Regions from separate parts of the Homo sapiens genome. Here region 1 is linked to region 2. The links are contacts of gene promoters, found by promoter capture Hi-C in human tissues and cell types (Jung and others, 2019). All regions are on one chromosome and are shown on one strand. The core of a region is centred on a gene start or on the middle of the fragment in contact, and the rest is flanking DNA. Distances in the headings are between cores, read along the strand shown. Region 1 has its middle 51 kb from the start of SYPL1. Region 2 holds the start of ATXN7L1 (ataxin 7 like 1).

Evidence for each region. Contacts are between HindIII fragments. The study calls those that stand out against the background at their distance.
Region 1: a fragment that was not itself captured here is called in contact with the fragment with the promoter of ATXN7L1 in region 2 in 1 of the 25 tissues and cell types used here (H1 embryonic stem cells).

What each region holds. Positions count from the first base shown.
Region 1 is chr7:106,058,304-106,065,095 of GRCh38, forward strand. No RefSeq gene overlaps it. Among named protein-coding and RNA genes, the nearest start is that of SYPL1, 51 kb to the right of the region's middle. RefSeq lists enhancers at 1-488, 172-331, 362-461, 3,906-4,035, 4,066-4,235 and 1 more and a silencer at 802-921. The HindIII fragment of the contact is 4,142 bases long and covers 1,097-5,238 here.
Region 2 is chr7:105,873,721-105,880,786 of GRCh38, forward strand. ATXN7L1 (ataxin 7 like 1) reads right to left here and starts at 2,879. Exons shown (of 12, transcript NM_020725.2): 1 at 2,658-2,879; 2 at 2,092-2,160. The coding sequence starts at 2,838. RefSeq lists a silencer at 2,922-3,131. The HindIII fragment of the contact is 16,114 bases long and covers 1-7,066 here.

The DNA of each region.
Region 1 (6,792 bases), core at 1,918-4,417, 180 kb after region 2:
CCCGGCTGCTCTAGCAGCCTGAATTCTGCCTTTTTCTTCCCTGAGAGCTGGGCTCAGGGAACCCGCGTATCGACCTCAGGGGGTCAGGCCTGCAGGTGGGTGGCTCCCCTGGGACTCTTTAAAACCAAACCCCGAGCAGAAAGGAGAGGCTGAGGTTTGGGGCTCCTTTAAAGGCCTCCTCTCAGCTTGTCTCCAGTTCACTGCCTAAGAATGTCCTCCAGACACAGGCTCTGAGGCCAGAGCTATTGAATATTTATCAAGGCCTCCTGGCAGACGTGGGAGACTGAGAACAGGAAAATCAGGCCCAGGCGGGCATCTGTGGAGCCTGCCTGGGTGCTAGCCAGATGCTGCAAGATTCAAGTTGCCCGTTGACTCTGCAGAGCCTGCCCCGCCCTGTCCTCCCTCCTCGGGGAGGCGTGCATGGGCCTGGCTGCTGTCAGGGTGTTTGCTTCTTGTCACCATCCTCCATACTGACTTCCATTGCAAGCCCTGCCCCACTGTGGCTCCATTGTCTGCAGTGGCCTGGGCTGACCAGCTCAGCCTGGAGCCCTGCCCTGGGACGATGCGGGCTAACACAGTGACACAAAGCCCTGCTTTGTGGCCCTGACAGGAGGATTTATCATTAGCTGTGAGATGGTCCCTGGCAGATCCTGGCATGTGGTGAGCAGACAGATCTGTGCTGATCACAGTATTTTGAGTACCCCCAGTTGAATACAGCATCTGGGGCCCTCAAATCTGCCACATGGATCTTATGGCTTCAGGCTCACTGGCACCTTTTGTGTTGGCCGAAGTACGGGTAGGGGGTAGATTAGGAGCACTAGCTTGTACCCAGTGACGTCTGGGGGCTGGTTTACAGGAAAGGCACCCTAAGGTTGTGCAGGCCCTGACATGTGGTCCTCCTGGCATCTGGGGACAGCATGTCAGGTTTGGGGTCTGCCCATCCTTGCCTTGGGCACAGGTCCCCAAACAACAGCAGCATCCCTGTGGGTGGGATATCTGACCAGCAGAAAATGGAAGTGAATATCTCTTTGATCTTGGAGTGAGGAAGAATTTCTTAAAAATAACACACCAAAAAATCACAAATCATAAAAAAGAAAGATTCATGATTTCAACCACGTTAAATTTAAGAACCTTGGTTCATCACAGGTATTTTAAAGAAACTCAGAAGATAAGCCACAAGCTGGGAAAAGATATGTGTAGCACTTAAGTGACAAAGGATTAGCTTCAAGAATATATCGAGTCCTGAATGCCTGGTGGGGTGGAGGGAGTGGGAAATAGACAGATAGTTCAGAAGAAAAATGGGAAAAAAATATGAATAGGCATTTGACAGAAGAGGCAACACATAGGGCCAGTCAACATAGGGATGTGCTAACCTAGTCAGTGTCCAGGAAATTGCAAAACAGGCAGTGAGATCCATTTCCTCCAGTCTGTTTCCTCCAGTCTCTCTCCGGGGCCTGGAGATGCTCCTTGGATGGTTCTCAGTGGCCCTGGTCCTCTCCCTGGGAAGCCTGGCCTGTCAGGCTCTGCAGAGCCCTCTGTTTTGTCCTTCCCCCAATATCCTCCCACTCAGAGCCTGAGTCTGCCCCTGCCCCTTCCCTTCCTGTCCTCACCAATGGCGAGTGTGGCAGATCCTCCAGTTTCTAGAAACACCTCCTCACTCCATCTTCATCCTTTCCTTTGATGTTTCCCCAGGTCTTATCCGGCCAGGTGGGCTTTAGGGAACATTTTTCTTCCCCCTTTGAAGCCAGGGTCTCGCTCTGTTGCCCAGGCTGGAGTGCAGTGGCACAATCTCGGCTCACTGCAGCCTCCGCCTCCCAGGTTCCAGCAATTCTTCTGCCTCAGCCTCCCAAGTAGCTGGGATTACAGGCATGCGCCACCACGCCTGGGTAATTTTTGTATTTTTAGTAGAGACGGGGTTTTGCCATGTTGGCCAGGCTGGTCTTGGACTCCTGACCTCAGGTGATCCACCCACCTCGGCCTCCCAAAGTGCTAGGATTACAGGCATGAGCCACTGCACCCGGCCTAGAGAGCATATTTTCAATCAGAAAAGTAGTTCGCTGCACCTCACAAGCCCAACACTGAGTTCCAGGAGGACCTCAGGACAGGCTATTGATGGTACGGTAAACATGGCTGACAACTAGCACGTTCTAGACCAAGTTCAGGTAGAAAGGGACTCCCTCAGCTGGCCACAAAGCTACCCTCTCCCTAGTGTGCAGCCTTATCAGGCTATTGTCCAAGGCAAAAGCTGTGTGTAACAAGCAGCCCACGCAGCCTGCAGCCAGGTCTGCCAAGGCACCTTTCCTAAGGGGCTGCCCATGTGGCCCGCTCACGCAGGATCTTGCTGGCACTCTTCCTTGGGAGCTTACCTTGTTTGGAAACCTTTCCTGGTTAGCCTTTAAGAGCCTCAACAGGCAGCTGAAAGCATGTCCTGAAATGCCTGAACTCATACTTGGAATGAGAACTAGCTACAGCTTAGTATGCCATGAACGTTTGCATCACTTGTTGTCCAATAAATCTGCGGTCCCCAACCTTTCTGGCACCAGGGACCAGTTTCATGGAAGACAATTTTTCCATGAACAAGGAGGATGGGGTGGTTTTGGGATGAAACTGTTCCACCTCAGATCATCAGGCATTAGATTCTCATAAGGAGTGCACAACCTAGATCCCTCGCATGCACCGTTCGCAGTAGGGTTTGTGCTCCTATGAGAATCTAATGCTGCCATGATCTGACAGGAGGTGGAGCTCAGGCAGCAACGCGCACTCACCCACTGCTCACCTCCTGCTGTGTGTCCCAGTTCCTAACAGGCCCTGGGGGTGAGGGATCCCTGCAATACATAACACGTGCTAAGCAGTGGGGTTTGGGTGCTACTTCCCAACTGGCCGCTCTTAGGAACTGGTGAAACCTTAAGTCAGGTGTGACTGAGCGAGCCCCTGGGTCATGGCTATTCTCCTTGCTGCTCTGCTCTCCTAAGTCTGGTTTGAGGCTCCTCTCCCTCCCTGGCGTCCCACCCTGTATGTCTCCTAAGCCAGTCCAGCTTCCAAGGGTCGCTGTTGTTTCTCATGGCCTTCATGAAAACAGCGGGCAGGGCATGTCTCTGGCCTGTGATGGCTCCCCGCTATAGTCCTTGTCATCTGTATATCAAGGAGATTTTATTTCTTTCTTTCTCAGTTCCTCTTTCTTTCTCTCTTTTTTTTTTTTTTCCTGTTTTTCCTTCACTCAACAAATCAAGCTTCCATTAGGCACAAAGAGTCTTGTAGACACTTGAGGACATACCAGTGAACAAAATAGTCTTAAATCCTTGCCCTCATGGAGATTCTATTCCGAATGGGAGACAGGAAATAAGCAAAATAAAATGTGAAACCTATGACAGGGTGAAAGCGATATGCAGTCCTGAGAATAACTTTTATTTGCATGGCACCACAGCTGCAAAAAACAGTGCATTTCACTAACCCCTTATGGTATCAACCATGGATGGGGCAATCACTACAGGCCAAGCATTGCATTTACATCACTTCAGAACCCCTGTGGGAGGTGCTGTCCTATCCCAGTATACAGATGAGGACACTGGCACACAGGGAGACTCAATGACTTCCCATGATCATCCATCTGCTAAGAAGTGGAGTCTGGATTCGAACCTGAAGCCGTGGGACTCCAACGTCTTTGTTCTTTGTCACTGTACAATATGCCTCCCAGCTTCTGTCCTGGCTGCCTCCACAATCACTCAGCAGCCTCTGTACTGCATACACCACAGCGGGAGGTAGTGCGTGGCTGCTGAACATATGGGTGACGAAAGGGGTTTTCTGGTGGGACTGAAGTGCCACTGTCCCTCTTACGTGCAGAAGGCCCTGCCTGCCCTGCATGCCACCATCTAACCTAGTCCTGCCAGCAGCTGCCTGGTGGTGGCTTTGCAGCCCTGTTACAGCCCCTGCTGGGTGCATGATTCACAGGGGTGCAGTGTTGCCTTGCCCAGGCTCAGGCCCTGGCCTGCACCAGCCTGAGACAGAGCACTGGGTCAGAGGTGCCTTCTGTGGCTCCACTGCCCAGGGCATCAATGGAGCAGGGCCTACGGCGAGCCTCTGTGTGTGTCGAGACAGCTAGAACTGTTACTGGTGGAGGGTCTTGACTGCAAGTTGTCCAGGTTCTTGGTGTTCTGAACGAAGAATTGGACAAAATGCACAGCAAAGAAAGGAAAGAATGAAGCAACTAAAGCAGAGATTTATTGAAAATGAAAGTACACTCCACAGGGTGGGAGCAGGCCTGAGCAGCGGTTCAAGGGTGCTGGTTACAGGATCTTCAGGGGTCCAAATACCCCCTAGAGGTTTCCCATAGGCCACTTGGTGTACACTTCATGCAAATGAAGTAGTGGCCTGCAATCAGTCTGATTGGTTGCAGAAATCAACCAAATCGGACAGGTGGGGGTGTTTACAAAGGGAGTAGCCTCTGGTCCTTTTGTTACTTAGGTGTGGAAAGTTGGGGTTTCCCTTTTGATTTAGTTCTAATTAGTCAGTGTGAATCAGCCTTAGGTTCCCTGCCTCCAGACCCTATTCTCCTGCCTCAGAACTTGCCTGGGCAAGACTAAAGGTGGTCTCACAGTCCAGAGAAGCCACAGTAGGGGCCAAGGGAAAAACTTCTTTGCCCTCTGTATGTTCATGGAAAAATCATCTCACAAAATGCAGATTAATAAAAGAAAAGGCAGACAAATTTGTTAATGTGCACATGGGGGAGAACCACAGAGTGATTACCTCCACCCTCCACCCTCCACCCTCCTCCACCCTCCTGTCTAAATAAGCTCTTCTTCTAGGCAAACTGGTGGGGGGAATTGATTCACTATCCTCAGAAATTAGGAAGCATGAAATTATGCTGGCTCTGCTACTGGGGAACAAAGAGCAGGGGCGTGGTGTGCAGCGGCCAGTGCAGGAAGTATAAGTATATATACCATCCTGAGGTTACAGAAAGAATGGGGGCTTGGATCGGGGCAAAATAGGTTATGGGAGGAGAAGATGAGGAGGCCTGGTGAGCCAAGATGATCTTGTTACGTAGACGAAACCTCACAGGGAGCAGCCCCGAGAGAACTGATGGGAAATGTTACTTTCAGACCTTTAAAGGTGTCCCATTTTCAGTTAATTTTTCCTAGATTGGACAAAGGACGACCTCTGAGAAAACCTGAGAAAACCTGGCTGCATCAATGCAGATTCTCTGCAGATGCAAATCTCCCCCAGAAAGACAGCTTTGCAGGGCTCCTTCTGTTTGCAGGCCCTCTGAACAACCATCTCAAATTATGTCAAAGAAGTGTATTTGGGGATGAAACATGTGGATTTCTTTCACCCCCCACCCCCCTGCATCGCTTGTGTACTCTTTTCCCAAAGTGGAGTCTACAGCATGGAGTAGGGGGAGTTGATCTCCAGATATCCATGTCTCTTCCCTGCGCATAGTGACAGGAAACTGAACCCAGGAATCAAAACTCAATATATGAGGCCAGACAATGGTGCTTGTTCCTCCCTCTTGTTGTGAGAAGACATGAAGTGAACTCTGGGGTCATGAGTTACTGTGCTTCGAAAAATAAGCTGTGTGACTTTGGGCAATTGCCCAACCTCTCTGGGACTCAATGCCATTGTCTGTAAAATAGGGCTAAGAACTCCTTTCCTGCCTGCCTCCTAGATTTGTGGTGAGGATCACAGGAAATAATGTATGTGAGTGTGCCCTGTAAACCATAAAGTGCCCTAGTGACATGCACCCATGCACCTCCATCATTCCTGCAGTGACTGAAACTTGGAAATCTCACCAGAATGCATCACTGTGAGACTTGTTGAGAATTAAGTCAAGCAGGGGTTAAATTTGCCAATCACCAGAGCACACTATGTATATTTAAAATCCTCCACTCTTTTAGTAATTGGGGGCAAAAAAGAAAAAAAAAAACATCCACTCTGTCCCAGAATCATTATTCTGTAAAGTTAATGAGTTCCATGAAGGGTCTTTGTGGTGACTCATCCCATCACTTCTTCCACTCCTGCCACCAGGTGAGACCTGGGGAGAGCATCAGGGAGCAGGTGTCTTAAGGATCTGAGGTGCAGGGTGGGGGCTCCCGCAGCGCTGTGTTTAAACAGGGCCCTGCTGACGCCTCACCACGGCCGGCTGGGAAACAGCTGCAGCATAAGGCCTCTCCTCAGGCTAGTGTGGAGCCCAGCAGATGTGCCATTTGCCTCCACAGCAACAGACGTGACCCTAAAACCAGTGAGGTCCCCACCCTGAAAGGCTCCACTGGCTTCTGAGCCTGTGTCTAGAGGGAGTGGGCAAGGATTCCAGGTGCATGGAGAGGTGAACGCTATTACTGACTCCTCTGCTGGCCATATGCTTACTTCCTTTATCCTCCCATCAGCTCTGTGAAGCACCCACCACTTTAGTGCGGAGGAAGCCGAGCCTTAGAGAGGTCAAGGCCTTTATTTCAGCCTCCCAGCCAGCAGGCAGCAGGGCTCCAAATCGGAACCCAGATTTATTGGACCCCAAATCATAGGCTGTGACAGGGCTCGTTATTAACCAGGCCATAAATACTTCCTGAGTCCCTATCCCGTCCCTGGAACTGCTGGGGACATGAAAGGCACAGGAGGCAGGGGCCCGACCTCACGGGGTTGGAGCAGACCTAAAGTGGGATGAGAGCAGAGGAACCCTGCGGCTGGGGCTCTCCACTCTTCCATCACGCTCTGTCCAGCAGGGCAACTGGAGGGAGCCATGAGCATGCGATGACCTGGCGGCTGCTCAGGATGGGAGGGACCACTGTCAGCCAGGACTGGCAG
Region 2 (7,066 bases), core at 1,629-4,128:
ATGTATAATTAGGAGCTAAATCTTCGTACCTTTATAGGACAAAGGACCTAATAAGCGGGATGTACCACCTGTGACTTCTGAGGAAAGGAGAGCTTTTCATTTTTTCTTAAAAGAATCCGTTTCTCAGCCAGGCACGGTGGCTCATGCCTGTAATTCCAGCACTTCGGGAGGCCAAGTGGGCAGATCACGAGGTCAAGAGATCAAGACCATCCTGGCCAACATGGTGAAACCCCGTCTCTACTAAAAATACAAAAATTAACTGGGTGTGGTGGCACGTGCCTGTAGTTCCAGCTATGCAGGAGGCTGAGGCAGGAGAATCGCTTGAACCCGGGAGGCGGAGGTTGCAGTGAGCCAAGATCGTACCACTGTACTCCAGCCTGGCGACAGAGTGAGAATCCGTATCAAAAAAAAAAAAAAAAAAAAAATCTGTTTCTCATGAGGCAAAGAGAATCTGAGAACAACAGTCTTCTGAAATAGAAACAGGGACTGGGGGGAAAGGATGTGAGTTTTGTGTGTGATAGTCATAACGCATCACCCAGACCTGAGAGGTGACAATCCTGTGCTATACCATGACCTTTACTCAACTTTAATTTAAAGATTTCCACAGCCTCATCATCTTTTATGGACACGTTGCCAGTAGCCTGATAACTGGGTCTTGCAAGCACTTAGAGATCTCAAGAGTTTGTGTGTGAAGAAAAATAATCTCTAGTGATGCTTCCCACTGCCAACACACATGAACATTTAACACAAATAAGCTGCCACTTGTAAGAAGTCCACTTGACATCAATCCCTCGTGCATCCTGAAGACACCTGTCAAGATCACACTAAGATATTTAGAAGCAAACATCTTTAGAATAATGTTTTGTTCCCAAAGTGCTTAATTAGCAGAAACATTATGCTAGGGAACTGTCCTTGAATATGTACGCATTTTAACCTTCATGTTATTTTTTCTGAAGCACAAAATTTCCTCTCAGTGGATGGTCAGGAAATGATTGGGCACAGAAAACCAACCATCTGAAGTGTTGATTCATAAAATGAGTTCCATCTTTCCACGCAGGCTTCAGCTGCCTTCCAGGGTGACATCCCTTTTTATGAGGGGGACCATTCTTTGGCATCTAATGGCCTTTTCTCCATTCATTTGGGATGACCAATGCACCTATGGCCTACTTATGTCTGAACTCTTTCAATACCACCAACCTCTTCTGTCCCCTTGTGCCATCTTCCCACCCCCAATTTCAGCCAATTATGTTTATAAGACATCAGTTAGTGAATCACAATTCAAATGAATCCACCTATTTGCTTAGCAGCAAGTGGCCCCCGGAGTTGCTCCATTTGAAGCCCATAGGCCAGAGTTACATACGGCAGGCTTGCAAATGAGAACAGGATATGATTTATTTATGACGACCATATGTGTTTGATGCCCAATTGCAGCAGGTTGTGGCTTCTCTTGCATATCTTGGTCTGGGATGACCTATCTACTCAGTGTGTCCCATTTCAGGTACCGTATTTCCATGCTGGGAAAAGAGAGATGATGACTGCTGAGGGGCTGCACATACAGATGCTCCTAACCCTGCTTGCCACATAACAATCTGTGACCAAATGCAAAGTGGGCCAAATGTAACTTGCTGCAAAGGTTTGCCATGTACAATGGTTTTCAGTGGTGAGTGGAGAAGTAGCTGCTGGAATGACTGACCATGTGGGGTTCATTAAGCTGTTGTGCATTCACCCACGAGAAAGGCTGGGATGCTTGTGAAGGGAACTCCACTCTTCATTTCAGAAATTTTAACGCCCCACCATTTGGCAATGATGCTCCCAAGGAGAATGGCAGATATGCATCAGAAGGTTCAAACGTGGAGTCCAACTGAAGTGCAGTAAACTTCTGCCTTCAACAGTCTCACCCCCCTTTACCCCCCCCCCAGTTGTATTTATACTTTGAAAGAAGTTAACATGAAGCAGTAGTCACCTGGGCGTGCTCAATTTTTGACAAGCCTTAGTCACTCTGTACCCAGCAGAACAATTCACATTATATTCGAAATCCTGTGAAGATTCTGCCACACATGCTAACACTAAAATGCCAGTAGCTCCACTTACCTTCTTTATTAAGCCTCATAACCTCCCTGCTTTTTCCACCCTCTTTTCCAGCCTCTTCTAAATCTACATCTGCAGATGAAAAAGAAAAGGAAAACAGAAAATAAGGAAAAAAGGGGGGAAAAAAGCCAAAGTCAAGGGGGGAGGGAGAGTGTTTATTTGCAAACAGATCGATATAAATACTGTATATGAAATTCTTTCAAAAATTGACAATGCAACATTTTCTCCCAAGTCTGGGTTTCCATCTACCTGGCCCAGATAGGTACCCAAAAAACTATGCAAGCAGCAACAAAGTAGCCTTTTAAACGGACAACACCGTGGGGCTGCGAGCCCACCCCGCGGGCTGCCACGGGGAGCCGGGCACAGACAGACAGACAGCCCTGGCAGCCGGGCCTCTCCCTGTGCATTGATGATCTGTCTCTGTGTGTATTTATTTAGAGAGAGAGGGAGAAGCATGGAGGACACCGGGGGCCACTCTCTCTCTCACACACACACTTTTTCCCAGTGGCTCTAGGTGAATGGAAAGGTTACAGGATAATAAAAGGAGGAGGAGGTGGTGGGGTTCTTACTGTCGGAGCAGTGTAATTTGGCGGCGTCGATCCAGGAGGACCAGGGTTTGCCCAGAAACGCCTCCGGACTGGGCACTTTGCGATCCAGTGTCGCCATTGCTCTTCCTTCTTGTTGCTTTTTCCCTGTTCCTTCGGCAGCAGCAGCCGAGAGACACGGGATTCGAGAACGCTCCGACGTCATCTTCGGAACGTTCCGACATTGAGTGTTCTGAAAGGGGGAGGGAGGGAGGAAGGGCGGGATGGGAGGAGGGCGGCGGAGGAGGAGGGGAGAGGGAGCGGAGGAGGGGCGGGCGCTCGGGCTCCCGGAGCCGGCTCGGTGGGGCTCGCGCGCCCGCGGCCGCCAGGGGCAGCAGAGAGGCACCTGCAGTCCGCGCCCGCCCGCCCGCCGGGGCCGCCCGCCTGCCGGGGAGGGGCAGCGCGGACGGGCGAGCGCCGCGTGCGGGAGAGCGAAGGCTGCAGCGCGCCCGGCAGCCGGGATGCAGCGGCGCCGCCCAAGCCTGGGGCGCAGGGGTCGGGGCACACGGGGATAGGCCCGACGCGGGGCCGAAGGAAGGGTGGTCTTTCCCGCAGAGTTGCCGCTGGAGGACCGAAAGTTTTGCAGGCAGCCCTTGCTTCCAGCTTGTCGCTCTCTCCCCGCGTCCCTGTCGCCCAACGCGAGGCGCCCCCGCTGGGGTCCCGACGGCTTGGTGGGGAGGAGCCGTGAGGGGTTGCGCCCCCCACCCCCACCCGAGCCAGGGAAGGGACCCTGGTGACCTCGCCTCCCAGCCCTCACCCCCGTCACCCCTTTCTTCTCTTTCCTGGAGGACTTTGGACCATGGAGATTCTGCAGTTGTTGCTCTAGGAGCTGAAACCAGTGGGTAGATGTCGTTCTGAAACGCAGGTGAGTTTGGAGCGCTACGAGCTACCTTCCCATCTCAGGCTGCGGGGCGTGCAAAACTCAAAAGTTAGGGCCCCCGGACCCCCGGGTTCCCCGCGCGGTGCGTATCTCCGGCTCTCAGAGAACCACTGCATGGACTTTGCTCCAGGGTCAGCAGAGCGGGAGGGCGAATTTACGGCTCTTGGAAGACGACGCTAACGGGCCTAGCCCCTGAGCCGTTTCCAGCGCTCCCTGCCGTGAGACGAGGGTGGCCCGGGTTTGCGCAGGCAACCTTTGGCCAGGAATCTGATTCCTGGGAGAATTCACTTCAGGCTTAACTGCTCTAGCCAGCTAGAAAGGGAGCGCTAGATTTCCTCTGGATTTTGGACGTTGGGTGCTTTAGTTGAGATTTTCACCCTTTAAAGAAGGCTTTAAAAAGTCTTCTGTTACTTCTTTTTAACAAATCCTTTTGTTTACTAGAATTATCTAAACTATATGGACACCGCCCTCACCCCACAAGCGACATATTTTTTTTTCTCTTTCGCCAGCACCCTTTTAGCTCTCACCACTGCTGTTTCCCAAGTTGTCACAGCTGAAGCGCACTGATTGGAAGTTGCTTTGTACTGACTGAGTTCTGCCCTGGCTGAACCATCTAATAATTTCCCTGAGCTTGGCACCCTGTATCGCTAAGCCAGTGTTAGGATGGGCGATGAAGGAGGAGCTGCGGATTTGCCTTTAGTTGTGATGTTTGTGTGAGTCGGCTTGTTTGTGTCAGACTCAGATAAACTGCATTTGCCTTTGCTCTCTTTCGAAGGGCTCCTACATAGCTAAGGTGTCGCTGGGTGAAGAATTCCCATTGTAAGAATTGGTGGTGTTAACAAATATGTATTACTTGTTGACCTCTTGTTATATGCTAGACCCTGGGCTTGACATTTCCTTCCTTCCTTCCTTCCTTCCATCTGTCCATCTTAAGTCAACCAATATTGCCTGTCATGGAACAGCTGTGCCCTCCTGTCAGGAGGGAAAGATGAGTGAGACCCATCCTCACCCTCACAGAGATGCAGTCTGGTGGTCTCTGGAAGAAGGAAGTTGTGAAACTTACCGATTCCTTGGGAAAACAGGCAGGTACACAGGGACTGGCCTGTGCAGTGGGTGGGGTGGTCTCTCAGCTGTGCCAGTTCATAGAGGAACCGAAATCTAGTTAGGAGTGAACAGAAACTGCGTAACAGAAGATGGGCTCTGCTCTGCATCTTGGAAATTGCCAAAGATTTGTAATGGTAAGGTGAAGACTGGTCTTGCGGAGGGAGGGGGAATAATGGTATTAGCAGAGGCTTCAAGCTGAGTATAAACATGGTGTGTTTGGGTGTTGAGCATGGTTTGCCTGGGATGGAGAATTGTTACTGGGGGCTTGGGGGTGATGCATTTTGATACCCAGGCCTGGATCAAATTATGGAAGGCACCAAACGGCAGCCTAAAGAGTCTGGATTTTGTTTGACAATGGGGAGCTACTGAAGGGCTTTCTGTACCATAAAGATAAGTTAAAAGTGTGAGTTAGAAAGATTGGAGTACGGAGCCTGGTTAGAAAAGTAGTGCTGCAATATTCATGGTGTGAAGAGATGAAAGCCTGAACTTTGGTGGTGCTATGCAGGTAGAGAAGAGGAGACAGGTGTGAGACTGTGAAGAGAGCACCTGATCAGAGGGTGTGCTGTTGGGCTAGATTTAGAGGTGGGGAGAGAGAATGCGAGAGCTCTGAGGCATGAGTAATTAGATGCTGGAACACTTTCCCTTTCCCTTCTGCTTCCCTATTTTCCCTCTATTTATTATCTATTTTGATGTTTATTCCTGTGTTGTTGTGCATGCAAGGAAGGTGTAGGCAGCAGCTAATGTGGCCCCAAAGGTCTGTACCTCCTGGTGTTCATGCCCTTGTGTAATCCTCTTTTCTTTAGTGTGGGCTAGACTTAGTCACTTGCTGATAACAAAGAGAATATAGCAAAAGTGGTGGGATGTCATTTCTGAGGTTAGGGTACAAAACTGCTGTCACTTCTGTTGCTCTCACTCTCTCTTGCATGCCCTGTCTTGCTCTAAGGGAAGCCCACTTCCATGTTGTAAGCTGCCTTATGGAGAGGACTGTGTGGCAGGTAACTGAGGGAGGCCTCTGGTCATCAGCCAGTGGGGAACTGAGGCCCTCAATACAACAGCCAGTGAGGAGCTTAATCCTGCTAGTAGCCATGTGAGTGGGCCACTTGCTGGGAGTCAGTGACTTGAGCTTCCAGAATGCTGTCTCCTCTTCTGGGAGCTACTGTAAACCACTCAAAAAAATCAAAGGTGGCTTATCATCAGAAGTCAGGACACCTCAGTTATAGTGAAGCAAATCAGTGGTTCCATATTTTAACATGAGCTTACTTTCCCAGCAGAGTCTGTCAAGTGGAGGTTACTACACAGGACCTTGAAGAGAGTCTGACAGCCCAAATATTATTTCCTTCTATTTGGGATGATTTTACTCCACAGTACGGTAAATTGTGGGCTAGAATCTAAAAGTGATTTAGCATCTCTACAAAAGAAGACTTCACAGGCATTGCCACATTTAATTGATAACAGAGTATGTCTACATTGTTGCAGTTAGTTATGGAGTATAATTGTAGAGTTGCTTTACTCTAAGCCTTCTCCAGTCTCTCCATTGACTATAGACATAATAATACTGACTTGTTGAAACTATAACCCATCTATGACTGTGTTGGATAACATGACTGTCAATCAAATTGCATAACTGAGAGGCAGAGAATAAAGAAAGCATCGCTCATCAAACTACTAGACATTTACACTTGACTTTGGATGAAAATTGAGGTCAGTTGGAAGTAGTGTTCAGGTTTACATGCTGTGTATGTATTATATACATATCAATACTCATATATCAACTATATATGGTGATCGATTTATTACAGAATTGAATTCCTTTTGGTAGTAAATAATTACAAATGCTGTTAGAGGCAACAAGAATCTAATACATCCTTAATAAGGATAAAGTGACCTGTAAAACAGTAATTTAAAGCATATTAGTATAATGTCTATGTGATAAAACTATCTAGCAAAGGCAAAACACCCTCTTCCCCTCATGATTAATGTTTAGGAAGAAAAAAGGATGTAAATATTTTTATTGTTTTATTATCTTTCTTAGGAAAATGACAGTGTGGTTGGTTTAATTAAAAGGGAGAGTCTCCCATAGACCAAATAAAGAAATCTGTTCTGTTTTAATGACAATGGAAAATACCTATTTAACTTGAATAACACCTGGTTCTGTAGAAATGTGCATCTATTATGTATCCTGCATTCACTTAGTCTGATTCATGTGCTGTTTCACCACATTACTGAAAAGAAGAGAAGAGGGAATGTTAGCTCTCTCATTTGAGGATATTAAACTCCTGCCGTGGTTGAGGCACGGTGTGAGCACCCTACTTCCTACCTAGACTGTTGGGAGTTACCTGGAGGCAATGAGGAGAAAATGACATGTTCCATTAGAATGAGGCATCCCTGGAATTATTTGATGTTCTTTGCC